4 separate regions of the Homo sapiens genome follow, and all the other regions are linked to region 3. Evidence: promoter capture Hi-C in human tissues and cell types (Jung and others, 2019). All regions are on one chromosome and are shown on one strand. Each heading gives the region's core, a stretch centred on a gene start or on the middle of the fragment in contact. The rest is flanking DNA. Distances are from core to core; before and after follow the strand shown.

Region 1 (2,700 bases), core at 198-2,697, 810 kb before region 3:
ACTGCAAAAGAATTTGGATGGTGTTTGGGACATTACTATAAATAGGTTTTGCCTATATTGCGTATATTGGCCTCATGTTGGCACCTTCAGTAATTCCGACAGCAGTTGGCTTCCAAATCCCTCACCATAAAAGTGGTTGCATATTATGAAATCCAACACTGATATCCCAGCATCCCAAGGAGTTCATCCCTATATCTCATTTAGTTATCTTCCAAGTAATCTGCTGTGATATGCAGTTTGCTACCCTGGCACAGACAGGAGGAAAAGAACCATCAGCCGCCCTAAGCCTGCAGTTCTGAGGCTCCCCCAAGGCTTCGATGGGCCTTTCTAGGAGGTGGCTCTGTGATTCCAGCCTCAACACCAAGGAATCTTGGGTTATTTATGAGATCAGAGCCCTTATTAATGTAATTCTGTTCAAGGCAATTTAAACGAATGAAATAGGCATGATGGTGCACGCCTGTGGTCCCAGCTACTTGTGATGCTGAGGAGGGGGATCACTTGAGCCCCAGAGTTTAAGGCTGCAGTGAGCCACGATGGTCCCACTGCACTCCAGCCTGGCAACACAGCAAGACCCTGCCTCTGAAACATTTTTTTTTAATTTAAAAAAAGAAGGGAAGATAAGTGAGAATTTGAAAGCAATGACAGACATATTTGAAAGCTGCAGGGGCAGGTGGAGGCAGCCACGGAGGACACGGTGGGGCGTCAGCTTGTGGGGCCGGAAGTTCCGTGCGAGCACCTAGAGCGAGGTCTCTCATACTCGTTCCCACACCACTGAGATTGGCGTTTCACTAAGGACCGATTGAGGAAGCAACAGCAATGAAAAGGAGGCCACGAGGAATGAGGAAACTGTCTACATGGAGTATAAACTCAAGGCCAGCATCCAAGGAAAACATCAAATTGGAAAGAAAAAAACAGAAACATTTCAGATGGCGGAGCTGAAACTCAGTCTCTGGGATGTGGCGACTTCGGTCTCCCTCTCATGCCTGACAGTGGAGTCAGAACCCTGTCATTTTTAGAGGCTGGGTCCCTGGCACGCGATTCCTCTGGTACAAAAGAACCCACTCACTGCGCAAGTGGTCTGGGCAGGGGACTAGGTGTGTGGGGCCAACTCACATCCCTGACTCCTGTTTCTCAGCCATTAGCTCATATCTGAAACCTGGTATTAGAATAGTTCATGCCGGGACACTCTTTGAACTCTGTTTGCCCTAGTCCTGGCACTGCTGCCCTACAAAGGGAGGAGAATTTTAATAGCATTAAACACACACACACACACACACACACACACACACACACACACACACACACACACAAGGGAAAGAGGATGAAATACTTGTAAAGCTTTTGATAGTATCGAGTCATACACATATAAGCATGCAAGTGGTAGGAGTACTGAATGTTCTAGAACATACACAATACAAGTTGCAGTAGAACTACCTTTTACATTACCTCATGGAGCAGCAAGGCTATGTTAGAGCTGAGAACAAAACTGAGGCTTCTAAACATTTGGGGCTTTTGAATACCTCTCCCCATATATTGTTTTGGAATGACCCCCAGCTTTCTGAAGAGCACGGAGGGTGGAGCATGGCCATCCTGCAGCACTGTAGAAAGAGCAATGGGCTTTAGAGCTCAGTTATGCTGATTGTTTCCTGCGTGACATAGAGCAGACGACCTAGCCTCTGGTCCTGTTTCCTCATCTTTATTTATTTATTTATTTATTTATTTATTTATATTTTTTTGAGACAGAGTCTCACTCTGTCGCCTAGGCTGGAGTGCAGTGGCGTAATCTCGGCTCACTGCAACCTGCACCTACCAGGTTCAAGCAATTCTCCTGCCTCAGCCTCCTGAGTAGCTGGAATTACAGGTGCATGCTACCGCGCCTGGCTAATTTTTCTATTTTTAGGAGAGATGGGGTTTCACCACGTTGGCCAGGCTGGTCTCGAACTCCTGACCTCAGGTGATCCACCCACCTTGGCCTGCCAAAGTGCTGGGATTACAGGTGTGACCGTGCCCGGCCCTGTTTCTTCGTCTTTAAAATGAGAATATGAAAGCCTTCTTCACAGGGTTGTAGTTGGAATACACGAAATGAGATGATGTATGTAAAGCTTCTACTATAGTGCCTGGCGTATAGCAGATGCTTTGTTCATTTGATCAATATTAATTAAGCACCTTACTACATGTCAGGCACTGTGTGAGGTGCTGGAAATAAACGTTAGTAGGAACAGACCTGGCATCTGTCTCCTTGGAGCGTGCAGTGTAGCCACCTATTGTGTCACTAATAGTGGCACTTACTGTGAATGGCCTGTCTTGACTGAGGTGCACAGGTGGTACTTACACAGGTCACAAAGATGAGCAAAGTACAGGCACTGCTTCTGAACTGCTTAAATCTGATTAAAAAGCTAGGACAACCATAACCACATAATTGGATGCCTCTGCCACTAATTAAGTGATCTTGGGGAAATAATTTAACAATTTTGGACCTCAGTTTCCCCATAAATAAAATGAGGAGGTTGGACTGGATTAATGGTTCCCAAACGTGGCTGAGTATCACAATTGCCTGGGGAAGCTTTTAGAAGTACATATTCCAGGGACCCACCCCAGACTTGCTCATCGGAATCTTAAGTGTGGGGTTCAGGGATCTGTAGTAATTTTAAAAATGTCCCCAAGTGATCCAACACAGATATTTTGGTCTTAGTCCATATG
Region 2 (2,700 bases), core at 150-2,649, 860 kb before region 3:
TTTTGAGAATTAAATAACCTCTGTGGCTGCCTCAGGCAAAAGCATGATCACCAAATTCAGGCCTGGGCAGGTTACAGAGGCTTTTGGTTCACCACCAAAATTCTTTAGTTTCTTTTATGGCTCTGCCAGGCTTCTTTTCACGGAACTCCTGACCCTCTTGCTAAATTGCTCCCTCGACTGCCTGTTTTCTTGGTGAAGGCTGCAATGATGGGGGTCAAGCTTGCTGTCTATGCTGCCCCAGCACGGGGCTCTGCAGAAAATGAAGGTAACACAAGGACAGCCTCTGGGAAGCACCTAGCATTCAGCAGGCACTCAATAAATGTTAACTGTTCATCATTTAACACATGCTTACTGTAGGTTTACTCAATACACAGTACTGTATAGGATATTCCAATCAATTAATACAATGCTACTCTCCTAGGAACTCAATATCACTGCCCAAGATGGTAGCCACTGACCACATGTGGCTATTTAAATTAAAAATGAATTTAAATTAAATGTTCAGTTCCTCCATTGCAGAAGCCACGTTTCAAGGGCTCAGTAGCTACAAGTGGCTAGTGGCTATTGTTTTGGACAGCACGGATTATAGAACGTTTCCATGATCACAGAGAGCTTATGGACTGTCTCATAGTGCTGGTCTAGAGTGGAAGCCAGGCAAGAACACAAATCATCACTTGTACAAAACCGAAAGTTCCATTTGAAATCCATTGTTTAAACGTGGTGCAGTAGGAGCTTTAACAGAGTTACTTGCAAAGTACCATGGCACTCAAGGTAAGGGTAGCAAACTCTAACCTACCGCCCAGGAGCAAGACCCCACCTACCAGCCATGGAGACAACCATTTTCTATTCCAATGACAACCTATACTTCCATCATTGCAGGTAATCTTTAGGAAAAGCAGCCATTCTGCAATGACCTTGAGAGCAATTTCCCATGATCAGAACCAAATTGTTTGCTATTTTAAATTTGCTACTCAGAGTAAACGAAAAAGTTCAGACCCAGTGAAAATGCCAAAAAGTAATCGAAATGGAATTCTTTCTGTGACTCTTAATTCAAGTCAACTAATATTATTGAGCATCTATTAGGTCTTACTCAAAGTTGAGTAACAGGAACTCTTGGTTGAATAACAGGAATCTCGTAGAGGTGAGGCAAACATATGTGATTATAACATTTAGCAGGGCAATACGTTATAATGGAGGTATCAATTACTATCCAAACAGCTGAGAAAGACTATGTCGTTCCAACGGTGGGGATGCTTTCTGGGGGTGATGGTATTTGAACCTGTCCCTAAGAGGACACACAGGATTCTCACAGCTGGAGATAGGAGAATGAGACCCGCCCAAGGAGCAAAGGCACAGAGGCCTGAAAAACACATGACACGTAGTTTCAAGTCCAAAATTCAACTTCAGAAAACAGAAGAGGGAAGGGGGAGAGAAAGAGAGACAGAGAGAGAGAGAGAGAGAACCAAAGCCAAAATCTAAAGACAAACAAAAGTCATTAATTCTTCGTGAAGCAGAACCTTCCTATTGGGGCCCCCTTATAAGGAGTTTGGGCGTCTCTTGTCATCTGCAGGAGACATCCGAGGCATCTGAACAGGGGAGAGGCACCATCAGATGTGGATTTAGAAAAGCTCTGGTAATCGTTTGCTCCAATAATGATGGATGGAGTGTGGAGGGTAAGCATCTGGAAGGTGGGAGCCCAGCTGGGAGGTCTGATTCAGTAGAAACACTACAAGGGGCAGAAGGAGAGCACTGTCAGCCTGAGTGGAAAGGAGACGAGGAGGTGTGGTCTGTGCCTTATGCAGCCAAGGGATGACAAATGTCCGCAGCTGGAACAAACCACCAGCACAGGCCTCGGGCCGCTGGCCTCTGGTCACTGCTGAATGGAGATGAAGAGTCCTGACTATAGTCTATCCGCATGTGGCTTTGGGGAGGGCCCACTGTTTCTGTGGTCACCTCCCAAGCTGCATGAGACAGCTGGAGCAGGTGTGATCTCCATGGGATCCGGCTATCTTGTAAGCACAGGCCATGGATCAGAAAGAGTCACCACTCCTGAAAATACAAACAAATTGAGATACATATCCCACCTTATTTTCAGGAATTTAGGAATTCCTAAATATTAGGATAAATTTAGGAATTCCTAAGATTCCTGAAGATTATCTGTAATATGTAAGAGATATATAACCCTCTTATTAAAATTAAGACAAAATCACGGTTAATAGTAGAAATAATTATTAATTATTTCCACCCTCCTAGGCATGTGTGTATTTGTCCAATAAGTTACTTCACTCTCATATGACGTCCTCCTCCTTTGGGCCCTCAAAGCCCATTGTAGCAGAGATCACTTGATGGTCACTAAAATTGCACACCGCTGGACTACATTACCCAGCATCCACTGCACAAAGAGGTGGTCATATGACTGGGTGCTATCTAAAGGTATACTAGAAGAAGTGATGTCTGCAGCTCCCAGGCCTGGCCTCTAAAAATCTCCAACCAGGAGACCTCCAAGCTCGCTTTTCTTCTTTCAGCTTGATGCAGACAAGCATGGTGGCCTTCAAAACCAGGCCAAAGGTAGAGTGATAAATCAGAAGAAGCCCAAGCCCCAAAATTACCAGAGGGAGACCTGCCTGATAATAATGAACATCTATTTTGGCTTTTACATGGGCTAGAAATAAATTTCTATGATTCTAGAGCCAATTTACA
Region 3 (2,700 bases), core at 128-2,627:
AGTGGCGGTGGCGGTCACGGTCTCTTCCCGGTGGGGCTCCGGTGGAGCACTCTGCGGGACAGCCGCGGGGATGCTGGGCTGGGGCAGGGAAAGAGGAAGGCCGGGAAGCTCCAGTGCAGTGGCATTGGAGTCACAGATGACGCTCCGGCGGAAGAAGCGGTGCTCAGTGGTGGTAGTGGTCGCGGCCGCCCCACGGCTGTCCTTGTCCATAGTGTGGCGGCGGCGCCTGTACTCCTCGGTCCTGCCGGTCACAGCGTCGGCGGCCGCGGCTCCCAGTTTCTCCCCCACGGAGGAATCGGAGCTGGAGCCATTCTTGGGGGCAGGAGCCGGCGGCGAGAGGAACAGGGAACCGGGAGTGCTGCTCTGCTTCTCTGCGGCGCCGCCAGACATGGTCGGTTCGCTGGAGAGAGGCGAGCGGGCTCGGATTCGTGAACGAAAAGGGCGTGAAGGGCCGAGCCGCCCGCGCAGAGGTCTGCAGGGAACCGCGGCCGGGCGGGTTCGCGCCGACCCGGACGACGCCTCACTCAGCACCGACAAGCCGCAACGAGGGACAGGCGGACCGCTGGGCCCAGCTGCGGCGGGGGCTGGCACCGAGGCTGCTGCGGCTCACGAGGAGGGCTCGAAGGCGGGCGATTCGGGAGCTGAGCCACGGGGGTTAGCGCCGCACGGTCCGCATCCATCCTGCGGCGAGCGGCGGCCGGGCGGGCGGTGGCAGCAGAGGCGCCGCAGTCATGAGGGGAGGGCCAGGGGCCGGCACCGAGTCGAGGCGGATGCGGCGGACGCGGCTCCCACTGCCGCCGCTCGCCGAGCTGGGCGGGCTAGGCCCAGAGGGCGGCGGCACCGCGAGCACGGGACCAGGTCCGACGCCCGGGCGGTGGCGGCCCCGGGGCAGAGGAGTGGGAGGGGCCGAGGCGGGCGAGGGAAGGCCGCGGCCCGGCTCCCGGTCACTCGGGCGGCCGCCTCCTCCCACACGCGCCCCCAGCGATGGGGACCGGCCTCACAGGTCGCCCATCGCCCAGAGGCGAAGGGCCGGAGCCTCGGAGCCTCGGCGCCTGAGGAGCGGGCCCCCCCTTCCCCGAGGCCTCCCCGCCCGCCCCAGGCCTGGCAAACCCGTCTCCTCCCGGGCCGGTGCCGGGGGCTGACGGAGGAGGGAACGGCGGGGAGGGGAGGGCCGCTCACCGCGGGGCCCGAGCTCCGCTGCTTCTCTGAGGCAAGAGGAGAGGAGACCTAGAGGACTGGGTGAGGGGGAACAGGGAGAGAAAAGAGCAGCCACCCCCACCAGGCGCCTTCTGTCACCGAAGATGGGGGTGCGGAGTGGCCGAGAGAGGAGCCGCGTCCACCCGGGAAACTCTCCGCGCTAAATGGCGCCGGGAGTCTGAAGCCTCCACACAGCCCGCTCGGATCCCGCCCCCCGCCGCCCGGAGCAGCCCCACCCCCCAACTCGCTCCGGGGCTTTTGCGCAGGCGTGCTAGCCCCGAGGCACCCTGGGACTTATAGTTTACGGGTTGGCGGGGATGAACGGGACCTAGAAGAAAAGTGCCTACGACTTCCGTGATGCCTTGCGGTTGCTGTAGCCTAATGCCTCGTGGGAGTTGTAGTTTTCTTTGGAAACCGTCCCTTCTGAAAGGCTGATGGGAGCGTCATCACGGGTCGCTCAACCCCATCCCGAAGTCCGCGCGAGCTTAGGAAAATCATTATTTAGGGATTAATTGTGGAAGAAGGAAAGGAAGGAAAAAAAAAAAAAAAAGAAGAGGAACGAGCGGGCGGGGGGTGGGGGGGGGGATGGAAAGACTCCCATCATGCTCTGCTAAGCTAGAGAGCTCTTAGGGTTGCCATGCAATGAAAAATGATCTGTTGTTCATCTTTAATGGAGAGAGCCTCAGTAGTGTTGAGTGACTGCAGGGCTGTGAGGGTGGAAGGGAAGGGCAAAGCAGGATAACCGGAGCCTGAGCTCTGAGTCGGAGGAGGGGAAAAGAAACTTTGTGAAGATTGTGCATGAAATTAATATTGATTAAACGGATTGGAGGAGGAGACACGGAGGATTACCTTCCATCCTCCTCCCCTCATCAATTAAGGCCACATTCTCAGCTCCCGGCCGAGACGGATATTCTGGCTCTCAAAAAAGGGCTGCCTTACTGAAATCGGGGATCCTAGTGAACTCTATCTTTGCTTTGTCTGAAAAATAATAAAAGGGGGGTTGGGGGAGCGGTGGATTCAAGAAAAGATAAGGTCTACGGATCTATGGGTCTTTGACCACACTTGGGGGGCTGGGCTGACTTCTGCCTTTGTAGTTGGTTGAAACTTATTTTCCACCTTTCTTCTGCTGGTGGCTTCGTGAAACAACACCCCCTCTTTCTCTAGAGCTCCTGAATGTCCACATGCAATGTCTACAAAGGCTCTGGGCCCGGGAAATGTGGATCCATGCGGCTTGCCGCCATGGAATGTTTTTCTTGAAAGCATCCTTGTCTGCCTGGACCCCTGTGCTCTTCGCAACTACTCAAGATGTGGAGGGGACGAGCACCAGGGGGCACCAGACCGAGTAGGAAGCCGGACTCGGGAGCAGACTGCAGTTTAAAAGCCTCAGTCCAACCGGTGGAGAGCGGGAAGCGCTGAAAACGTACGCAACCGCATCAGAGCGTCCGGACGCGGCCGCCTCTCTTCAGCGCCCGCTGCGGAACAAGCTCGAAAGCGCGCGTCGGG
Region 4 (2,700 bases), core at 161-2,660, 950 kb before region 3:
AGCCTAAATTCAAATCAACCCCTAAAATGTATTTCATTGGCTTGAAATCTTAATGCTTAGCCCTCACCTTTTTTTTTTTTTTAAATCTAGGGCCACTAACAACAACAAAACAGCTTTTATATAATGTCCAGTTTAAATAGTTTCTTAGAAATCTGTGAAGAGAGGATTTCACCCCTGAAAAATTGGTCTTGTTCCTCCTTTTAGTTTAGTGCTATGTATTTTACCATACTTCCATTTTTACCCTCGCTGCCAAGCAAACTCAAACCCAATTTTTATTCTTAGTCATTGAATTATGCTGTCACTTGGGAAAAGAATATATGCTTTGTCCTTTCCCTGATTTCTTCTTTTTACACATATTTTATTACACTTCCAGATCTTTTATTTTAAGTTACCAGATATCCTTTCTGGAAGAAATAGGATAAAATAAATTTCAAGAAAATAAAGTCAATCTTCTGTGCCATTCTGCTGAAGTTTTCATAATGTAACCCCTACCACAAAGACATCCTCCTTAACCAAAGGAATGGATACATGGATACAACTAGGCATACATGTTCACTAAACTTAATTTCAAAACATACAAGATTAAAGTGAATATGCTGTCAATGAAAAATAATCAGCTGATATACTAACAACAAACATACAAAAGAAAGGCCTAAATGGCCAAAGTGTAATAAGCTAACTAATTTTGCCCCTTTTAAGACCATATGCTTTGTGTTTTGTTCTCTAGTACACAGACATTGTGGAAATAAGAATATTCTTATATTCAATAAATCCAGTAAGAATGTGTAATATGATCAGTTATAAAGAAAATATCATTTTGTTGTAGTCTTCCATTAAAAAACTTAAGTGTCCTTTTCCAGTTATTTTTCCCATGCCTGAAGATAATCTGGCAATTCTCAGAATTTAGCTTCCCTTTTCCTTCTGTCTGGACACTTGTCTAATTAAGCCAATCTATAATATCATTGGCCAACATATATCCCCTTCTAACACATGGTATACTCCAATCCAGAAAACTCAAAACCATAAGTAATGTTAAACAAATCCCCTTTTTAATAAATTCCTCAACTTCCAATTTCTAAATACCAAATGTACTTATAAAATAGGCTAATTATTTCCTAACAGGTCCTAAGATATCAGTTCGTCCTATTTAACTTATCTTAGAGTTGAAAGATGAGAGACAACATATGCCAAAGTGACAATTTTATAATGAAGTTTTTCTTTTCTTTTTAAGACGGAGTTTCGCTCTTGTTGCCCAGGCTGGAGTGCAATGGTGCTATCTCGGCTCACCGCAACCTCTGCCTCCCGGGTTCAAGTGATTATCCTGCCTCGGTCTCCCAAGTAGCAGGGATTACAGGCAGTGGCCATGATGCCTGGCTAATTTTTGTTTTTGGTTTTTTTTGTTTTGTTTTGTTTTAGTATTTTCAGTAGAGACGGGGGTTTCGCCATGTTGGCCAGGCTGGTCTCAAACTCCCAACCTCAGGTGATCCGCCCACCTTGGCGTCCCAAAGTGCTGGGATTACAGGCCTGAGCGACCGCACCCAGCATGCACTGCAGTTTTTCAAGTTTGTATTTCACAATTTGAAAATATTATTTTTAACAAAATTAAAGCACTTCACTCAGCAGTAACCCCAACAGTTACTGGTTCATGAACCAATTTAGATTTTTAAAAGACCATTTACTTACCACCTGCTATATACCGGAACTGCCAGTAGATTATCAAGAAAGTTACACGTTCCTTACCCTCAAGAAATATATAGTCTATTAGGCAGGCACCCAGATTCTTTTTGATCAGTGATAACAAAACCATATGCTTTCAAGAGCCAAGCAGAGAATGTAAATAGGTGAAGCAGCTCCACCTAAGGGAGGCCCGGGAACAGAATGCATGCTCCACCTGAAGTAATCGTAAATCAACTTTAAAAGAATGCTATTGAAACAAAGCATATCTCCCAGTTAGATAGAATATACTGCAAATGCTTAACCTCCTATCAGATAAACAAAGATTTTTTTTTTTAATTTGTAATGACACAGAGAAGCTAGACTCCACCCACATTTCTGGTGAGAGTTTACATTGCTGTGACCTTTCTGGGTGGCAATGTGATAACACACATCAAAATGAAAAATGTGTTTTCTTCAACTATTACAAAATTACTAAAGGGGAATTAGCTTGCAATAAATATACATAAAATGTATGGGCAATTTACAATCCATTTATATAATCTAAATATCCATCAGTAAGAGCAGTATTAAGTTATAGCATATCCATTTAATAATACTACACTAGAGAACTACTAAAAAGAAGAGAGTAGATGCAGATGTAAAGTAAGCCACAAATATTAATTTTAAAAACACACACACAGGGCCTGTCATGGTGGCTCAAGCCTATAATCCCAGCACTTTGAGAAGCTAAGGCAAAGAGGATCACTTGAGTCCAGGAGTTCAAGGCCGGCCTGGGCAACATGGCAAAACCTCGTCTCCATTAAAAATGCAAAAATTAGCCTGGCGTGCATCTATAGTCCCAGCTACGTGGGAGTCTCAGTTGGGAGGACTGTTTGAGTTCGAGAGGGCAGTGAGCCGTGATTGTGCCATGGCACTCCAGCCTGGGTGACAGAGCAAGACCCTGTCTCAGAAATTAAATAAAATACACACACACACACACACACACACACACACACAATCAGCCAAGACAGCACCACCTGCTGA

The links. Contacts are between HindIII fragments. The study calls those that stand out against the background at their distance.
Region 1: a fragment that was not itself captured here is called in contact with the fragment with the promoter of WNK1 in region 3 in 1 of the 25 tissues and cell types used here (dorsolateral prefrontal cortex).
Region 2: a contact is called between a fragment that was not itself captured here and the fragment with the promoter of WNK1 in region 3, in 1 of the 25 tissues and cell types used here (dorsolateral prefrontal cortex).
Region 4: a fragment that was not itself captured here is called in contact with the fragment with the promoter of WNK1 in region 3 in 1 of the 25 tissues and cell types used here (dorsolateral prefrontal cortex).

What each region holds. Positions count from the first base shown.
Region 1 is chr12:1,561,357-1,564,056 of GRCh38, reverse strand. No RefSeq gene overlaps it. Among named protein-coding and RNA genes, the nearest start is that of FBXL14, 32 kb to the left of the region's middle. The HindIII fragment of the contact is 3,948 bases long and covers 1-2,700 here.
Region 2 is chr12:1,613,751-1,616,450 of GRCh38, reverse strand. No RefSeq gene overlaps it. Among named protein-coding and RNA genes, the nearest start is that of WNT5B, 14 kb to the left of the region's middle. The HindIII fragment of the contact is 5,498 bases long and covers 1-2,700 here.
Region 3 is chr12:751,256-753,955 of GRCh38, reverse strand. It overlaps WNK1 (WNK lysine deficient protein kinase 1), which reads right to left and starts at 1,377. Exons shown (of 28, transcript NM_018979.4): 1 at 1-1,377. The coding sequence starts at 390. RefSeq lists enhancers at 1-645, 646-1,364, 2,122-2,171, 2,222-2,321 and silencers at 482-861, 872-1,251, 1,332-1,481. The HindIII fragment of the contact is 16,449 bases long and covers 1-2,700 here.
Region 4 is chr12:1,698,180-1,700,879 of GRCh38, reverse strand. The region is part of intron 1 of ADIPOR2 (adiponectin receptor 2); the gene reads right to left. Among named protein-coding and RNA genes, the nearest start is that of ADIPOR2, 8.5 kb to the right of the region's middle. The HindIII fragment of the contact is 6,685 bases long and covers 1-2,700 here.